Regions from separate parts of the Homo sapiens genome. Here region 2 is linked to region 1. Evidence: promoter capture Hi-C in human tissues and cell types (Jung and others, 2019). All regions are on one chromosome and are shown on one strand. The core of a region is centred on a gene start or on the middle of the fragment in contact, and the rest is flanking DNA. Distances in the headings are between cores, read along the strand shown.

The links. The method cuts DNA at HindIII sites, captures the fragments that hold promoters and counts their contacts. A contact is called where the count stands out against the background at its distance.
Region 2: a fragment that was not itself captured here is called in contact with the fragment with the promoter of SPECC1L-ADORA2A in region 1 in 2 of the 25 tissues and cell types used here (aorta and spleen).

The regions. Positions count from the first base shown.
Region 1 is chr22:24,269,174-24,272,336 of GRCh38, forward strand. SPECC1L-ADORA2A (SPECC1L-ADORA2A readthrough (NMD candidate)) reads left to right here and starts at 1,644. Exons shown (of 20, transcript NR_103546.1): 1 at 1,644-1,810. It overlaps SPECC1L (sperm antigen with calponin homology and coiled-coil domains 1 like), which reads left to right and starts at 1,658. Exons shown (of 17, transcript NM_015330.6): 1 at 1,658-1,810. It also overlaps the pseudogene RPS10P29. RefSeq lists a silencer at 1,447-1,976 and an enhancer at 2,037-2,116. The HindIII fragment of the contact is 12,728 bases long and covers 1-3,163 here.
Region 2 is chr22:24,058,689-24,061,851 of GRCh38, forward strand. CABIN1 (calcineurin binding protein 1) reads left to right here. Exons shown (of 37, transcript NM_012295.4): 11 at 539-675; 12 at 1,236-1,453. Among named protein-coding and RNA genes, the nearest start is that of CABIN1, 49 kb to the left of the region's middle. The HindIII fragment of the contact is 4,065 bases long and covers 1-3,163 here.

The DNA of each region.
Region 1 (3,163 bases), core at 394-2,893:
AAGATTATGTAATAAAAGAAAAAACTATTAAAGTAGTACAAACTATCAAAGGAAAAAACCTGTATGATCATTGCAACAGGTTCATTTGCGACATAATACAATTTTTTTCTTTTTTTTTTTTTAAGTCTTTTTGGCTGTAAGTTTATTCAATGCAAAATAATCCTCTCCAATTCTACTGAGGTGGCTGACGGTGTCCACGACCAAATTTGCCTCTAAACTGGAATTCGGTTGCTGACCCAGCCCCAGCCTCGGCTTTCTTGTCGGCACCAGGGGGCACAGCACTCCTTCTGTAGGTATCTCTGTCGGCTTCTCCTCTTGTGAGTCTTGCAGGTCGCTCACCCTCCAGACCTTTAGACCGAGGCCTGCCAGTCCCTGGACGGCTGCGGCGTAGGGTGGCAGGCACAATCTCCAGGGGCAGATGAAGGTAATCACGGAGATACTGGATATCCTCATTGGTAAGGTACCAGTAGACATGTCTCCAGGCAAACTGTTCCTTCACGTAGTAGCCTCGGGACTACATGACAGGAAGGTTGGGCACACACATTCTTTTTTTTTTGAGAGGAGTCTCACTCTGTCGCCCAGGCTGGAGTGCAGGGGCGCGATCTCGGCTCACTGCAACCTCCGCCCCCTGGGTTCAAGCAATTCTCCTGCCTTGGCCTCCCGACTAGCTGGGATTACAGGTGTCTGCCACCGCGCCTGGCTAATATTTTTGTATTTTTAGTAGACACGGGTTTCACCATCTTGGCCAGGCTGGTCTTGAACTCCTGACCTCGTGATCCGCCCGCCTCGGCCTCCCAAAGTGCTGGGATTACAGGCCTAAGCCACCGCGCCCGGCCGGGCACATTCTTGTCTGCCAACTCCAGGTGCTTAGGCATGTGGACATCCTTCTTGACCACCGTGACTTCCTCTTTAAAAAGGAGTTCATAAATGGCAATCCGGTTTTTCTTAGGCATCAGCATTCTGGGGAGGAGCAGCCGCTAAGGTGGCAGGGTGGCCCGGATGGGGGCCGATGGAACTCGAACTCCCCCAGAATTTCTTTAATATTTTATATATATATATATATATATATACATATATATATGTATATATATACACATATATATACATATATATATACGTATATATATATGTATATATATACATATATATATACGTATATATATATACGTATATATATATGTATATACATATATATATACATATATGTTGCTCGCTTATTCTTTTTGTCTGTTCCCTTATGTACCGGGAGTGCCAGGAGGACAGGGCTTTGTGTTTTCCTCACTGCTGTCTGGCTCATGCATAGCACAGTCCTTGGCACACGGTAAACACGCTGAGGAGAACTTTTGGGACTAGCGGACTCTGAGCATCATTCCGCTGGGCCCAGTGGGGCCTCTGAAGGGACCCGCCTTGCCCGGCTCCAGCCCAAGACCTGAGGCATGCGCACCGGCTGGCCGGCTACTTTCTTGACCGGCCAAGTGGCAGAGCGGCTGCGCGACCCAGTGCCGAGACGGACGCGAGCCGGAGATGGGGGAAGGGGAGGGGGTGGTGGTGGGGGACGGCGGCGCCTGCGCAGTGAAGGAATGTAGGCGGGGCCTCCACGACGCCTGCGCAGACGGCCGCAGCCCTGCTGGGCGCGAAGGGGCTGGCCAAGGGCGGGGCCCGCGAGGGAGGCCGGGCGGCCCGGCAAGCGGCGCTGCGGGGTAGGCTGCTTTCCTGAGGCCGGACTCAACGGGTCTCGGCTGAGCCACCGGGTGAGCTCACCGCCCAGCCCAAACCAGGAGATTGCGAGGGAGCGATGCGGTGCAGCGCGGTAAGAGCAGCAGCCGGGTTCCCGCAGTGTTCGCTGGCGGGTTGGTTTATCGCCTCAGCGCCGCCCGCGCTGCCGCGCCCGGGCGTCCCCGCAGACCCCGGCAGGCCCAGCGCCTGCGCCGTCTCTGCTCCTGGGCCCCTCCAGTGTGTCCCGCGCCTGCGCCTTTCCCTTCCCGCGCCGTCCTCGTTCTGGGCTTCGGGGCTTCTGGAACAACCCGCAGGCTTCGCCGCCGAGACCCACTGGCCTTCGTCCGTTGGTGTTGGGGTTCAGCTGGTTCTGGGACCCCGCTTGCGGCTTGACTGTGTGCAGACAGGCCGGGTGCGACCCTCGTGCTTGCCTTTCCGCCGCTCCGGGAGAGGCTGGGGCTGCCGCCCCATCGCCCGGGTCCCTTGCCTGGGGCGGGGACAGCGTTGTTCAGTGGCCCCGAGGGCGCAGAGCGGAGGAGCAGGGGCCACAGGCGGCGGACCCCGGGCCTGCTGCCGGTGCTGCTTCTGCTGTGGCCGGCGCCCGAGGCGGACGGAACGTCCTTTTTTCTTGAGACGTGGTTAATTGCATCAGGTTGGATGTGAATAATCCGGTACCTGTCTGAGGAAATTTTGCGTTTCCAGGAATTTGGTAATTGTATTACCTTAAGTAGTTAAGTCTAAGACATCATAGTCGCGGCACGTTGGGCAAGCTGCCCTGGAGATGACGAAAAGAAATCAGTTTCCAGTAGTTTTAGCCCATTTACAGAACACGCAAAAATTCTGTGATCATTCAAATGCGGGGAACCTTGATTTGTTGATATCCTTGATCATTTGTCCAAGTACCAGAAGGGCGAGGAAAAGATTCCCGTGAACAGCCCAGGTGATTTCAGGGAACAGTGTTTTCTTTTGTCAAAAGAGCCTCTTAAGCCATGATAATATTTCCCAAGCTTATAACAGATACAAGCCTTTAAAAAATGGCATTTGCTGTCACCCAGTAGGACACATCTTGAGATGAAATCAGAGCTGTAGGCTTTGTAGACAACAGCAGTCATTTCTGGTGGCTTCAGGGAGTGGAGGGGGACTGCAATTTTGCCAATGTAGGTGATACCAAAGGGACTATAGTAATTTTTTCTTCGTAATTAAAAACCAGGCCAGGCGCGGTGCCTCATGCCTGTAATCCCAGCACTTTGGGAGGCCGGGGCGGGCGGATCACCTGAAGTCAGGAGTTCAAGACCAGCCTGACCAACATGGTGAAATCCTGTCTCTACTAAAAATACAAAAAGCGCGCGCCTGTAATCCCAGCTACTCAGGAGGGTGAGGCAGGAGAATCGCTTGAACCCGGGAGGCGGAGGTTGCAGTGAGCCGAGTTCGCGCCACTGTACCCCAG
Region 2 (3,163 bases), core at 379-2,878, 210 kb before region 1:
CCTGTGCCTTTGTACCTGTTCTTGTCCTGCATCTTTGTATTGCAAGCCCTTCTCCTCCTCCAGTGTGTCAGCATGAACATTATCCCCTCTCAAAGGCTTTCTCTGACCCTGCTCTCTAAAGCAGGGCCCTTTTGACCCATAGTCTCAAGCACTCTGTTGTGAGGTGGTCCTTATTTGGGTTAGTTTGTGTACCTGCTTATTGGCTGTGTCTCTCTAGAGGGTAAGCTTACTGCAGGCAGGATCTGCCACATTTAGGGCTGCTGTATTTGGTGCCTAGCACAGTGCCTGGCACATAGCTGGTGCTCGGTAATCATCTGTTGATGAGATGAATGACCGAGACAGGATACAGACCAAATGCTGGCTCATGAGGCCCTGGAGAGAGGCAGAGCCTCCTGGAGGCCTGGGTTCTGGACCCCACCACCCACTTATTTTAGCTGCCTTCTTCCTGACTCAGATTTAGTTTCTCTAACAGGAAGAGTTCAGATGCTTGTGTCAGAACGTGTGTTGTGACTTTGTGATTTTGGCATGTTACATGCAGGTTAAGAAAGCTGGACCCTGAGGAGGAAGATGATTCCTTTAATAACTATGAAGTCCAGTCAGAAGCCAAACTGGAAAGCTTCCCAAGCATTGGGCCTCAAAGGCTGTCATTTGACTCAGCCACATTCATGGAATCTGGTAGGAATCGAGCAGTGTGACCATTCACTTTGGGAATTCTTCTTCCCACTATCCTATAACCTGCTTATGTTTTGTTCTGGGAGAATGGTTCTGGGGTGTTTTTTAGTGTGGCCAAGAGTCTGCCTGGATTAGTCTTGGACCTAAGCCCTGTGGTCAGCTTGGAGGTCTTCTGAAATGTCCAGGCTCATACTTGCTATGCTTTCTTATGGCCAAATTCAGAGACTTCGCTTTGCAAATTGAATCTATATAAGCACACCTGTTGAGTGTGTATCAGTGTATAACTGTTGAGTGAGATTAGTGCACATGGCAGCACTTGGAGGTCTGCCCTTTTGATGTCCACCTTAGATACGGAGATTCAGAGAGGCTCAATCATAGCTGCTGAGGGTTGGAGCCAGGCATTGAACCCAGTAGCCTGATCTCAGCACCACAACGTGGTATCATGTCCACCTGGATCAGATGGTAGAGGGAGGGAACAGTCTTTACTGTCCCAAAGTAAATAGGAGACCCTGGCATGGAAGGTACTCTTTATTCAAGTCAGGTTGTTCTTGCTCCCCGGGCAGAAAAGCAGGACGTGCATGAGTTCCTGCTGGAGAACCTAACCAACGGGGGCATCCTGGAGCTGATGATGCGCTACCTGAAAGCCATGGGCCACAAGTTCTTGGTAAGGTGGCCTCCAGGCTTGGCGGAGGTCGTGCTCAGCGTCTACCACAGCTGGAGGAGGCACAGCACCAGCCTGCCCAACCCGCTGCTGAGGGACTGCAGCAACAAGCACATCAAGGTTAGGGGGAGCCTCTCAAGGGCTGGTATTGAACTGGGACCAGGGCATGGGGACAGGGATCTTGCATGGGTGTGGGGCTGCTGTTGTGTTTGGCTGCATCTACTTGTGGGCCTGGAACCTGGTTTTTTTGTGGGTGTCGAAGCAGGAAGTCACTGAACCTAGTTTGTGCCTAGAAAGCTCCCTGATGGCTGAGTGGAGGATACACTTAGGGGTGAGAGTGGGCTCACGGGGCTATCAGGAGGCTGCTGCCATGCCAGGGGAGCAGTGGCTGAGATCCAGTGGTAATAGTGGGGTGCTGGTTTGTGGTTGCAGAGCTGATAGGTTGAACTAGACATGGGATGTGTGAGGGAATGAGAGTCATGGGGAGGGCTTCTCGGGTTGTTTACTGAGTCACAGGAAGCCTTGCCAGGAGAAGCTGGAGGAAAGGGAAACATTTGGTTTGTTTGAGTTGGCAAGGACTGTGACTGAGGCTTTTGTTGTTGTTGTTTGAGACAGGGTCTTGCTCTGTTGCCTAGGCTGGAGTGCAGTGGTGCAGTCACGGCTCACTGCAGCTTCAACCTCCTGGGCTCGGGTAGTCCTCCCACCTCAGCCTTCAAAGTAGCTGGAACCACAGCCGTACACCACCACACCCGGTTATAGTCCCAGCTACTCAGGAGGCTGAGGCAGGAGAATGGTGTGAACCCGGGAGGCGGAGCTTGCAGTGAGCCGAGATGGCGCCACCGCACTCCAGCCTAGGCGACAAGGCGAGACTCTTGTCTCAAAAAAAAAAAATTTGTTTTGTTTTGTAGAGATGGGGGTCTCCTTTTGTTACGATGTTAGGATGTGGTCTTGCCATGTTGCCATGTTGCCCAGACTGGTCTGGAACTCCTGGGCTCAAGTGATCCTGATGCCTTGGCATCCCAAAGCACTGGGATGACAGGCGGGAGCCACCATGCCTGGCCTATGACTATTTTTAACAGATGATAAAACAGCAGAAGCTAAATAGCGTGCTTAGAGAAGCTTTGGGGGCCACCAGCAGTAGGGGGCTGAGCCTCACTGAGCCTTGTCTTCCTGCTGCATTCCACACCCCAGCCTCCTCCACTTGGTGCCTCCTGGAGCTCAAGGGAACACAAGGTGCTCTGGCCCCTTACTCCTGTTGGAGGTGGGACACTGAATGCTGAAGCAGGAGCACCAGGAACATTCAGGGATGCCTGGTGGTCTTTCTGACTTGAGAGCACAGGAGGTAGAAGAGCTTGTAGGTCAGTCATCCCTTGGTGGGCACCCTCCACTGAGTTACCTCAGGGCAACCTCCTGGCAGCTTCTGCCCACCAGGCCATGCTCCCCTGGGGCAGTTGTGAAACAGCAGGAGGAACCAGGGCTTTGATCCCCAGGCAAAGCAGGCTGATGATCACCTTCCAGCTGTGCCCAATGGGCAAGTGCCTTCTCATCACTGAGCCTCAGCTTCCTCAAGTGCCCTGGGAATGGTATACCAGCTGCCCAGAACTTTTAAGGGTTGAGTTCTATAATTTGGATGCAGTGTCCGTCCCAGCACTTGGCAGGTGACAGGGCTGCCTCTTCAACAGGACAAGAACTCTGAAGACCGGTCTCCTGGCCTCTCCCAAGTCTTGTCCCAACATACATCCATGTGGCTCTTTTTATGTTCTGGCGAGTAGCCACTGATTATCACTTATGAAATGGCAAGTGGATAGAAAGAATTATATTTTTATCAAA